3 separate regions of the Homo sapiens genome follow, and all the other regions are linked to region 1. Evidence: promoter capture Hi-C in 16 types of primary human blood cells and fetal thymus (Javierre and others, 2016). All regions are on one chromosome and are shown on one strand. Each heading gives the region's core, a stretch centred on a gene start or on the middle of the fragment in contact. The rest is flanking DNA. Distances are from core to core; before and after follow the strand shown. Region 1 holds the start of DUSP2 (dual specificity phosphatase 2). Region 2 overlaps FER1L5 (fer-1 like family member 5). Region 3 has its middle 5.8 kb from the start of LMAN2L.

The links. Contacts are between HindIII fragments. The CHiCAGO score rates a contact against its expected background, and 5 or more counts as called.
Region 2: a fragment that was not itself captured here is called in contact with the fragment with the promoter of DUSP2 in region 1 in 1 of 17 cell types (monocytes); the score reaches 5.7 in monocytes.
Region 3: a fragment that was not itself captured here is called in contact with the fragment with the promoter of DUSP2 in region 1 in 2 of 17 cell types (total B cells and monocytes); the score reaches 6.4 in total B cells.

Annotation. Positions count from the first base shown.
Region 1 is chr2:96,143,214-96,147,180 of GRCh38, forward strand. It overlaps DUSP2 (dual specificity phosphatase 2), which reads right to left and starts at 2,227. Exons shown (of 4, transcript NM_004418.4): 1 at 1,754-2,227; 2 at 1,548-1,669; 3 at 941-1,160; 4 at 1-824. The coding sequence starts at 2,141. The coding sequence ends at 610. RefSeq lists enhancers at 1,157-1,206, 1,609-2,110, 2,907-3,786 and a silencer at 1,837-2,596. The HindIII fragment of the contact is 7,151 bases long and covers 1-2,997 here.
Region 2 is chr2:96,661,876-96,666,078 of GRCh38, forward strand. It overlaps FER1L5 (fer-1 like family member 5), which reads left to right. Exons shown (of 53, transcript NM_001293083.2): 13 at 340-392; 14 at 1,564-1,632. Among named protein-coding and RNA genes, the nearest start is that of FER1L5, 21 kb to the left of the region's middle. RefSeq lists an enhancer at 1-189. The HindIII fragment of the contact is 7,223 bases long and covers 1-4,203 here.
Region 3 is chr2:96,743,825-96,747,847 of GRCh38, forward strand. No RefSeq gene overlaps it. Among named protein-coding and RNA genes, the nearest start is that of LMAN2L, 5.8 kb to the left of the region's middle. The HindIII fragment of the contact is 2,172 bases long and covers 1,206-3,377 here.

The sequences.
Region 1 (3,967 bases), core at 977-3,476:
TCTGTATAAATATAAAGTGCTAAGTTTCCAACCCCTGCCCACAGGGCTAGGAGGAAGCGGGGGAGGGAGTGTTAAATGTCAGCTGAGCACAAATAATTTTCCAGCGCCAGCACAGGTGTGAAAGGCTCACAGACAGACACACGCAACATGACACACCCATCACTTCCCAAGTCCCCAGCTTCCCCAGGAACACAGGGCTTGGGCTCCAGGCCCTGGGCAGACGAACCCACAGACAGGGCTCCTGGTTGTCACAGCTTGTTCCTTGGAGCTCTCAGGCTGCCAAGGGCTTCAACATGGTGGTGGACCAGGGAGAGTCCACGGTATAGCGTCTAGCTGATTTCTGCCAGAGGATGGGGAGGGAAAGAGCAGACACACCCTTGGTTCCCGACCCCGAATGAGGGCCAGCCTCAGTCCCCCAGCAGAAGAGCACCAGGTCGGAAAGACCAGCATGCCGGCATTCCTAGAGCCCCCATGTGGGGGCTTCTGAAACTCTGAGGAGGTAGCAGCCCTGCCAGAGGTGAGGGGACTGTGCTGGCCCAGAGGGGAGCCCACCAGTCCACAGTCAGCTCCTGCCAGCACAGTGGGGCAGGCAGGCAGAGGGGCACCACCTCAGTGACACAGCACCTGGGTCTCAAACTGCAGCAGCTGCCCCATGAAACTGAAGTTGGGGGAGATGACCCCCCGGCGCTGCTTAACGAAGTCAAAGGCCTCGTCCAGCCGCACACGGCGACTCTGCATGAGGTATGCCAGACAGATGGTGGCAGAGCGCGAGATACCCGCCTGGCAGTGCACCAGCACCCGGCCTCCGCTGTTCTTCACCCAGTCTGCAAGGGAGATGGGGGAGTGGTGTCAGACGGAATGTGCACAGCCCAGGAGACAGGTGCCCCCAGTCCTCTCCTCTGGAGCCCCTCGGGATTTCTGGGCAGAGGTGCCCCCTTACCAATGAAGCCTATGGCCTCCTGGAACCAGGCACTGATCTCCACCATCTGGTTGTCCTCCACAGGGATACTCTTGTAGCGGAAAAGGCCCTCAAAGTGGTTGGGGCAGCTGGCGGACACGTTGAGGACGGCTGTGATGCCACAGGCCTGCAGCCCCTGCAGGTCTGACGAGTGACTGCAGCTGCCCAGGAACAGGTAGGGCAAGATCTCCACAGGGCCACCCTGGAGGGAACAGAGGGGCGGTGAGGCCTTTCCAGCCCAGCCCCGGAGAGCTGGAGCAGCAGCGGGTGGAGACCCCATGGGCTGGCCGAGACAAGAGGACTCCTCAGCCAGTCCTCCTGACCTGAGACAGGTCTCAGGAATGTGCGGAGGACACACCGGGACATACATTTCCCTTCATGCTCCCAACATACACATGCAAACATACACAGACCCATACAGGCACGCGCGAGCAGCCATGCCCCACCCCCTCCCCCAACACACACACGTATAAAAGTGTGTGTATATGGGCAAACTGCTCGCATCCCCAAATGGCAGGCTCTTTCCCTAGAGGCGCCCAGTCCGCGGCGGGGAGAGAGGGAGGTTCGGGGGAGGGGGGTCAATACTCACCTGGTCGTAGACAGGAGCCCTGGAGTCGGAGCGGCTGGTTTTGTCCCCTGTTGGCGGCAGCGCAGGGGCGGGGGCCTCAGAGCACAGATCGGGACAGCAGCCCTGGAAGCCGTCGAAGCCTCCTGCAAGGAGGGGAAGAGCACGATCAGCAGGGAAAGCCGGGCTGGAGTCGGGTGGGGCGGGCCAAGGGCGGCCGGCTTGCTCACCTCGCAGGAAGTACACGGCAGTGGGCCCCGCGCGGGTCTCGTGCAGCAGCGCGGCCAGCAGCACATGAGCCGGGCTGTCGGGCCGGAGCTCCGCCACCGAGGCACTGCCCTCGTCCAGCACCACGGCCCGCGCCAGCTCCCCGCGGACCAGGCGCGTCCGCAGCGCGCGGTCGGGCAGCAGGCAGGCGAGAACGGCGGCAGGAGGGCCGCGCGCGCGGCGCCGCAGCAGCGCGTTCCAAGGCACTGGCCGCGCGGCGCGCACGTGGCGCCGGCAGAAGGCCAGGAAGGGGCGGCAGTCCAGCAGCAGCGTGCGTTCCGCCTCCCGCGGATCCCGCAGCAGCGTGCCCAGCGCCGCGCACTCCAGCTCGCGCGCCGCCTCCAGCCCCATGGCCACCGGTGCCTCTTCCTCTTCCTTTCGGTCTTTCCCGCGTCCCGGGCTCTCGTGGCGGTGGCGCTGCCCGAGCGGTCGACTCCGGGCGCCCTCCGCGGCGGCCCGGGTTAAGTACCCGTGGGCCGGCCTCCGGGGCACCATACAAGGGCAGAGCAGGAAGGCGCTGGCGCCCGCGCCCGCCCCCGCCCCTCACGTGGGGCGCAGTCTGGGCTGACCTGGAGACTTCGGGGCGGGGGGGAGGTTGAGGGGGAAGGCAGGGCGCGGGGACCAACACACCGGGAGGAGGCGGGGACCAGCGACTAAGGGAAGGGAAGGTGTTACCCGGAGTCGGAGGGACTAGCACCCCTCCGTTTTTGCGCCCACCCTTTGACCTGTCCCAAGCCACTCAGTCCTGGGGAACCCAGCTTCTCAGATGCAGGTCCCCCTTTAGGGCCAACGATGACCCTTGGAGTACCCCACCCCCTAACCCCACGCTTCCTCTGCCTTTTCCCTTTCCCTCCCAGAATTTTCCTCTTAGAAATTTGTCACCACAAACATTGACAAATGCCTGCTGCCACGGGTGATTTCTACACTGGATGATGGGGGGGGTCCCTGCTGAGATGTCCTATTTCTCATCTATTTGGAGACCTTGAGCCAGAGGGACTTTCTCTCTCCTCCCCCTCCCCACCCCCCATTGCCTGGATAAGACCAGTACTCAGGGTCTTGCAGTAGGTTGGTGGCCAAGCTAGGCCAGAACACAGTCCCCGGGGCCCAGGCCCCTGGGCTTGGGCCGAAGGGAAATGAGGGGGGGTCCCAGGGCCTTTCATGGGGAAAGCAGGGGTCTGTGACTGGTTTCCAGTTATGTGTAGGGCAAAGCTTCTTCCTCCTGGGTGCAGGGAAAGCCCCCAGGCCCCAGAGAGAAGTACTTCCCCCTGCCACAAGCCCGCCCTGGAGGGAAGTCCGCTGACGCTCCCGGCCCTCCCCAGGCCTGCGGGGATTTCAAGACCTTGGCAAGGGGAAGAGGGAGAAGCAGAACAGAACTGGCCTCCCCCATCCTAGGCCTCCCTGTCCAGCCCCGCCGGGCAGCAAAGTCCAGGGCTAGCACTGCACCCGGAGGACTGGGGGCCTGGGTATCCCCTCCATTCCGCCCTCCCCCAGCCCTGCTGCCGGATGTGGTGAGGCCCAGGTGTGCGTGGGGTGTCTGAGCCACAAGAATTGTTGGCAGTGAACTCCCAAACTCAAGCAGAGAAGTTGAGGTGGGTGGAGACAGCGTCACTGCGCTGGAGCTGCCCTCGCCCTGCCCCCAGCTGCGTGGGATTTCAGAACCCACCCTCCAAGCCCCCAGTCTCCTGAGGCCCTCCTCCGTGCCCTCTGAAAGACCCTTCCGGCTCCCCCACAGACCCCTGTGTCCAGACCGTCTTGAAGAGTGACAGCTGGGACCTGTGGAGAGCCCGCAGCCCTTCTGGACTTGTCTGCCCTGAGTTCCTCACAGCAGTGTGCTGTATGCCTGGTTGTGTGCAGGGCAGCATCGTACCTGTGCAGTTCCACTATGTGTGAGAAGGAGCTGGAGCTTGTGTGTGCTGGGGTCAGAGCCGATGCAGAGGAGAAAAGCCCCAAGGACTCCAAAGGTCCCTGGGGCCACGTCACCCTCTCAGTGTCTCCATCTGTAAGGGGAGCACATCATGGTGCAGCGGCTCTTCCACACTGGCTCCAACGCTCTAAGGCTACTCCACTGTCTGGGCAACTTGGCTGAGGCCCCGCTGTCCCTGGCAGGCCAGTCTGGAGGCTGAGGCAGCAAAGCCCACAACAGAGCCAGGGAGTCTGGGCCACAGATCCCAAAGGCT
Region 2 (4,203 bases), core at 282-2,781, 520 kb after region 1:
CTTTTGGCACTAAACTACTGTTTGGGGTAGGGGGGACAGGGTGAGACTGGAATTGCTCCCAGACTTGTCCTGTGGAGGTGCCATGGACACCCTTTCAAACGGGTCTCACACCCCCAGCCTGTCTATGATGGCCAGATGCAAACTCAAGGCTCCCTATGTCCCCCCACCCCATGCCATTGTGTGGAAGAAGAAGGGGCATGGTGGGAACTGGAGACAGGTCTGCCCAGGGGGCACCCCTCTAAATTATAGGGGAGGGTTTTCAGTTGTTCTGTCGCCACCCTATTTCCTCCTCCTGAAAAATGCTGCTGGCTCAGATATCTTTTAACTTGTTGTTCATAGAGAAACACCAGTCAGTGAATCCTCAGTTGGAGGTGGAACTAATTGGGGAAAAGGTAAGTGTAGAAATATTCTGAGACCCAGAGAGATTGGCATCTAGAGAAAGTAGTTTGGAGAGGAGGGTGGCCTGGTGGGCAAGACCACAGGAATCATCTCCCAGTCACCCACTGAGAGAAGTATGCACCCCTGCACCTGGAACTCTGTGCAGGCGGAGGCCACGTCTTATTCTCTGCATGCCAGATGCCCCCCAAAAACCAAATACACGTGGAAGAATGAGTGCGTGAATGAAACATGCCAATGAGTGAACACCATCGAAACTGTCGCCACCCCTCAGTTTCTTCATGTGTAAACGAAGGTTCTGGGCAAGAGAGTTGCTGACATTCCATGAACCTCTATGAATACGGAATAGCATTTTCCAAAGTGTGCTGATGGGTGTCATGGGTAAAAAAGGGTCCTATGTTCAAATTCGGACAATGCTAGGTTACAGTTAAACAGATATTTTCCATATTTGCCAAGCAGAATTTCTACCATATTCTATTTGTTGCAAGCAAGTCGTTAAATCCAGCCCACACATAAGCGGAGAGAAAATAATGTCTATCTTTTGAAGGGAGGAGTACCAAAGAATTTGTGAACATATTTAAAACCACCATACTGAGTATTTCCCAGTGAGTGGTTGGGTACCCCCAAAGCTAGGTGAAACGTTCTCAGGTGGTAAGTGACACGCAGTTCTCAAAAATTTTGATACTTCTGTGTTCATCTTAGTGTACCTTAAAAAGTTTAATAAGGCCAAGTAACACTTGATTCCACAGATACCACTGCTTACACATAAACTCAACTGACGGTTTTAAAACAGGCATGCTGCTGCCATTAGCTGTGTTTTTGCCCATTTTTCTTTTGGGATCTCAGAATTTATCTAGCAAAATATATGTCTATACACTCATATAGTAAGGTCAGTAGCCTTATATCTATTTAAAAATGAAGTCTATTGAAAGCTGACTTAAGGAAAAATATGAGGAATCTGAATCTGGCAAACACCTCGGGTAAGTACACAAAGGACTGGCGCTGTTGCTGCTGAGAAGTTGTGCAGGTGTCTTGAGAGCAGGGATTAGCCCAAGCACCTCTGTGCTGTGGTGTCCACTGGGAGGCTGGACAGGAAGAGCTGGAAGGTGAGGTCAGTGGAGGGAGGAGGGGGCAGGCTGGCACCAACACTGCTTTGGGACATTCCAGCTCAGGACACACATGCAGACCCAAACCGACAACCCGATATGGAACCAGATCCTGACCTTCCGGATTCAGGTATGGCTCCTCCATCATGCCCACCCTTCTCCCACATCCCCTAACATAGAAGGGAAGTTTGGATGATTGTGTGGGGGTGAAGACAGAGGGTGGGGGCCAAAAAGCATGGCAAGGGGGACTCTGCCTGATAGGGAGCATGAGGAAGCCCAGGACATATTATGGAAAACTTTACCTTTTACAGCTTACTGAGTTATCATTGACGTACCTATGTCAATGGTATGTATGACTTGTAGATATTTAAAATGTACAATTTGGCTGGGCACGGTGGCTTACACCTGTAATCCCAGCACTTTCGGAGGCTGACGTGGGCAGATCACTTGAGCTCCAGAGTTTGAGACCAGCCTGGACAACAGTGGCGAAACCAGACTCTACTAAAAAGATAAAAATTAGTCGGGCGTGGTGACATGCGCCTGTAGTTCCAGCTACTCGGGAGGGTGAGGCAGGAGAGTTGCTTGAACCCCGGAGGTGGAAGTTGCAGTGAGCTGAGCCGAGGTAGTATCACCTACTTATTTGAGCAAACACTTCAGCTAAGTAGGTGATAACAACCTGTTGCCCAAGCCAAGCCACTGCACTCCAGCCTGCACAACAGAGGGAGACTCAGTCTCAGGAAAATATAAAAGAAAAAAGAAAAGAGAGAGAGAGAGAGGAAGGAGAGAGGGAGGGAAGGAGGGATGGAAGGGGAGGGAAGGAAGGAAGGAAGAAAGGAAATGTACAATTTGATACATTTTAAAATATGTACACATCCAGGAAACCCATCATACAATCAACATAATGAATATATCTATCACCTCCAAAAGTTGCCTAATGCCTCTTGGGAATCCCTCCCTGTGATTCCTATTCCACCCCCTCCCATCCCCAGGCAACCAACAATCTGCTTTCTGTTACTACGTATTAGCTTGCATTTCCTAGTGTTTCATAGAAATGGAATCGTTCAGTAAGTACCCTTATTTGTCTGACTTCTTTCACTCAGCATAATTATTGTGAAATTCATTCATGCCATTGCTGTGTATCAGTGGTTTATTCCTTTTTGTTGCTAAGTAATATTCCATTGTATGGATGTACCACAGTTTGCTTATCCCTTTCCTTGTTTATGAACATTTCCGGTTTGGGGCTGTTACAATGAAGCTGTAAACACTTGTGTACAACCCTTAGCATAGACATATGCTTTCATTTCTCTTAGGTAAATATGTAGATGCAGAATGACTAGATTCTATGGTAGATGTATTAAGCAATGAGTGGGTCATACAACTGAACTTTCCAGAGAACTTAAATGTGCCCTTTCACCCACATATAAAAACAAAACAAATCCCTTTAAAGACACATTTTAAATGATAATATACATTTTCTTATCTTCTCAGCAACTTTGCCCTGAATATAATTAGAGCTTTTTGTTGATGGCCTGGAGCCATTATGGGAACATAGTTATTATCCTGGGCTATCTGCAGTACCGGGCTACTTGTTCCTGCACTAAATGGCTCTGAGATGCTTTCTTTTTGGGGTTCTGTAGTCTGATTTTGATCGCCTTTCAATCTGTCTCCGTCACCTATCAGCTGTTGTGGATGACAGTTCTCTTGAAGGCGGAGTCTTACTGGCCTTTTGACTCTAAGTCAGGCTTCTAAGAGCAGTGTGTAAAATAAGAACACAGTTCTGAGAGAGAACTTGAGCTGAGAGATAACTTGAGCTCTCTCATAAGTGCAGGCACACAGGAATTTGTGTGACATGGACTTGGCAACCCAGAGAATGTTTTGTTTCCTCATACCTTACATTGTGAAATACAAAATTAGCTAATGCGCTCCCCTTCTCCCTCCTGTGAACTCCCCTCCTTGCTGCTTCTAGTAGCTACCCAGTCTGCCTTCCTGTGAGTCATCACTTTCAACCATTCCTCATAATCCCTGCCTCCTTGGATGATTTTATAGACTCTGAAAGTAGGAAGACATTTCAGAGGAGGCCTAGTCCATCCCCCATCCTTGCCAAGCTCCCTCCCACCTTTTCCGGCCTGTGATGAGGGCACAGGGCTGGGATCCTCAGATGTTCTGTGGCTGTTCAGAGCCTTGGGAAATCTTCTTTTTTCATCTTCTGTTCATCTTCTTTGTTCATCTTTTTTTTTTTTTTCTGAGACAGAGTTTCATTCTTGTCACCCAGGCTGGAGTGCAATGGCGCGATCTCGGCTCACTGCAACTTCTGCCTCCTGGGTTTAAGCTATGAGTAGCTGGGGCTACAGGTGCCTACCACCAAGCCTGGCTAATTTTCATATTTTTAGTAGAGACGAGGTTTCACCATGTTGGCCAGGCTGGTCTCGAACACCTGACCTCAGGTGATCCACCTGCCTTGGCCTCCTACAGTGCTGGGATTACAGGTGTGAGCCACCATGCCCGGCCCTGTTCATCTTCTTACAGGCTCAGAACCAATGGCACAGGCCAGGCCCTCCCTCATCCCTGAGAGAGGCCTTCCAACATTTGAAGATGTTCAAACACCCCTGGAACCTCATCCATTTTCCCCAGAACACAGTCTCCAGGGTGGGGCCCTTTGGATACTGGCCTGATTGCCTTTAGCCCTTTGGAAATGCAGCAG
Region 3 (4,023 bases), core at 1,042-3,541, 600 kb after region 1:
GAAAGGTGAGATGCACTGGACTATAAATCAAATCATTTTGTTCAGACTGTTGCAATAGGAAGAATGCTTATTAATGAGGAATGTATCAAAGAAAAGGAAGAGCCAGGCCCGGTGGCTCATACCTGTAATCCCAGTACTTTGGGAGGCTGAGGCGGGTGGATCATGAGGTCAGGAGTTCGAGACCAGCCTGGCCAATATAGTGAAACCCCATCTCAACTAGAAATACAAAAATTAGCCAAGCGTGGTAGTGCACACCTGTAGTCCCAGCCACTCGGGAGGTTGAGGCAGGAGAATCGCTTGAACCCAGGAGGAAGAGGTTGCAGTGAGCCAAGATCATGCCACTGCACTCGAGCCTGAGCAACAGAGTGAGACTCCATCTCAAAAGAAAAAAAAAAGGAAAGGAAGGACAGGCGGGGCTCGGTGGCTCACACCTGCAATCCCAGCACTTTGGGAGGCCGAGGTGGGGGTGGAGGGCGGAATCATTTGAGGTCAGGAGTTCGAGACCAGCCTGGCCAACATGGTGAAACCCTGTCTCTACTAAAAATACAAAAATTAGCCAGGCATGGTGCCTGTAATCCCAGCTACTTGGAAGGCTGAGGCAGGAGAATTGCTTGAACCCAGGAGGCGGAGGTTGCAGTGAGCCGAGATCACGCCATTGCACTCCAGCCTGAGCAACAAGAGTGAAACTCCATCTCAAAGCAAAACAAAAGGAAGGAGACCTGGGGTAATCCAGGTAAACAAGGGATCTTTCGTGAGAGGAAGGATGGAGAGGGTCTTATCTGAGTCACTGAGGAAGGGTGGAAGTGGGTCTTATCTTGGGATATTCCAGAGCAGGGTAGTCCGTTAAGACAGCCATCTCTCAGCTGGGCGCAGTGGCTCATGCCTGTAATCCCAGCGCTTTGGGATGCTGAGGCGGACAGATCATATGTCAGGAGTTTAAGACCAGCCTGGCCAACAAACATGGTGAAACCCTGTCTCTACTAAAAATACATAAAAAATTTGCCGGGCATCATGGCACGTGTGTGTAATCCCAGCTACTTGGGAGGCTGAGATATGAGAATCTCTTGAGCCTGGGAGGCAGAGGTTGCAGTGAGCCAAGATCGCGCCACTATACTCCAGCCTGGACAACGGAGTCTACAAAGTGAGATGGAAGGAAGACAAAAGGATGGGGAATTTCTTTACTGTAGGTGCTTTTCAGAAGCACAAGCTTCAGCTAAGTTCAACACAGTCAAGGTGTTGAGGGGTGGTAGTGGGAAAGAGAACAAGTAGCCATGGCCCCTTCAACGCCACCTTTTACTCACACGCAGAGGCACCTCCGAAAGCTGGCTCAGGTCTTGCGCTACCATCCTTTCAGCTGCCTAGTGGTCCCCTTTTTCTCTGTGGAATCATCTATCTCCCACGATCTAGGGCTGCACAACTTCAGGGCCGGGGTATTCATATGCAATGTGAGTTGTGCATTCCAGCAGTTCTGCATGATTCCTCTACCTTCCTGTCTTCCAAACCAAAGAGCAGGGCTGGGCGCAGTGGCTCATGCCTGTAATTCTAGCACTTTGGGAGGATCGCTTGAGCCCAGGAGTTCAAGATCAGCCTGGGCAAGATGTTGAGACCCTGTCCCTTTTAAAAAATTAAAAACAACAACAACCAAAGAAGTACCTCCACTCAGGAGCACCTTGAAGCCTGATGCCCCTTCACCCCATGACAGAGGCTCCAGGGCAGCCTCTTGGCCTATTCTTTCCACTGCTTCTCACCCTTCTTTTACAAACCTTGCCATTCAATTCTGATCCACCCCCTCCCAGGACAGAAGCAGCCCTCCCTAGGCCAAGTACAACCATCCATCCATCCTCAGGTATCCAGTGTGTCAGGTCCATCTTCAGCCCAATAGTCACAGCTGACCGGGTCCTACCAACTGTACCTCCAGTTCCCCAGGTAGCCACTGAAGCATACAAGAGGATAGCAGCTCCAACACTAACTAGCTAGCTACTTCCCAGCGGTGACTTCTCAACATTGGACTCCTGAAAGCCACAGTCAAATATCCTGGGGTAGGTACCTTTGCCTGAGCCCTACTGCCAGACACGTGACTCAACAAGTGTAGGGATTTAGCTTTGAAGAAAAAAAAATAAAACCTGGAGAATTTAATTTTTTTTTTTGAGAGAGAGTCTCACTCTATCACCCAGTGGAGGGCAGTGGTGTGATCACAGCTCACTGCAACCTCTGCCTCCCAGGCTCAAGCCATCCTCCCACCTCAGCCTCCTGAGTAGCTGGGACCACAGGCACATGCCACCACACCCAGCTAAATTTTATATTTTTTGTAGAGACGGGGTTTCACCATGTTGGCCAGGCTGGTCTCGAACTCCTGGGTTCAAGCAATCCGCCCACTTCAGCGTCCCAAAGTACTGGGATTACAGGCGTGAGCCACCATGCCTGGCCTTTTTTTTTTTCTTTTAAGAGATGGGGTCTTGTTCTGTCACCCAGGCTAGAGTGCAGTGGTGTGAACTGCAGCCTCAAACTCCTGGGCTCAAGGGATTCTCCTGGCTCAAACTCCTGGGCTCAAGGGATCCTCCTGCCTTAGCCTTCTGAGTAGTTGGAATACAGTCAGGTGTCACCATGCCTGGCTATTATTTTATTTTTTGTAGAGATAATGTCTTGCTATTTGCCCAGGCTGGTCTTGAACTCCCGGGCTCGAGGCATCCTACTACCTTGGCCCTCGAAAGTGTTGGAATTATAGGCATGAGCCATCGTGCCCACCCCACCCTCCACCAGAGAATTTAATACGCAGCCCAGTTTTCAGAACTACAGCCCTTTCACATGCAGTATCTCATTTTGACCTCACAATGACTTGTTGTGGTAATCTTTAAGATTAGGACAGGCTGGGCTCAGTGGCTCACACCTGCAGTACGAGCACTTTGGAGGCCGAGGCAGGAGGATCACTTGAATTCAGGAGTTTGACACCAGCCTGGGCAACATAGTAAGACCCCGTCTCTAAAAAATACAAAAAATACAAAAAATTGTCTGGGTGTGCTAGTGTGCGCCGGTAGGCCCAGCTACTTGGGAGGCTGCGACATTTTACCCCGGGGGTCAAGGCTGTAGTGAGCCATGATCAGGCCACTCCACTCCAGCCTGGGTGACAGAGAAAGACCCTATCTCTTAAAAAAAAAAAATGACAAGAACAGTTCATAGAGGCTCCAACTCCTGAATTTAAAGATAAGAATTAAAGATTTGCTTTAAGATACTCTAGAGGAATATCGTGTGTGTGTGTTTAGAAGGGTAGGATGGATAAACAAAAAAAGCATCAGGATGTTGAGAACTGCTGCAGCTGAGATAGGGGTGCACAACACTCCCTCCAGCTTCATGGATGTGTGAGAGTTGCCGTAAGGAAAAGCTTCTCAAAGTCTCCCGTGGAGATGATGAGGAAATATGCTGGGTATGCATTTGTGGTGTTTTCTAAATTTCCCTGAGGGAAGGAAAACTGTAATTAACTATAATCTAGTAAAGTTCATTGTGACCCATCCAATATAATGTTGTCATAACTAAAGAGAGAGGCGTCTGCAATCTAGAAAAAGAACAGTCAAGGGATGAAAATAAGTCAGAGTTGTATCAGTTCTGTCCAGGAAAGAGAGTGCTTCTAAGCAGCCTGTGTTAGATCTCCATATAACTTTATTCAAATAAAGCCTATTTTCTGAGCGTATTTATAAAGACTTCCAGCCTAACGTTCTAATCCTCTTAGCAGTTTAATTTTTCTGTATAAATTAAGAAATTAGTGTGTATTTGGGTTTATCACTTAGTTATTAGTTTAGCCAGAGTGACTTAGCCCTCCCAGTCTGTTTATTTGCAGGGGAATTGATAAAAACCAGTATCCTGAGGACCAGATCTCAGATCTATGGTGGCTCTCCTTGCAGTGGCAGAGCTCCCACAATTCAGCAATGCCTCTGGGGATCCAGATGCTTGCTTCCCACAGAGTTAGGGCATAAGATTCGCCAAGGATCGTAGAATGGGGTGTGGTGAAGGAGGAGAACTCTGGCATAT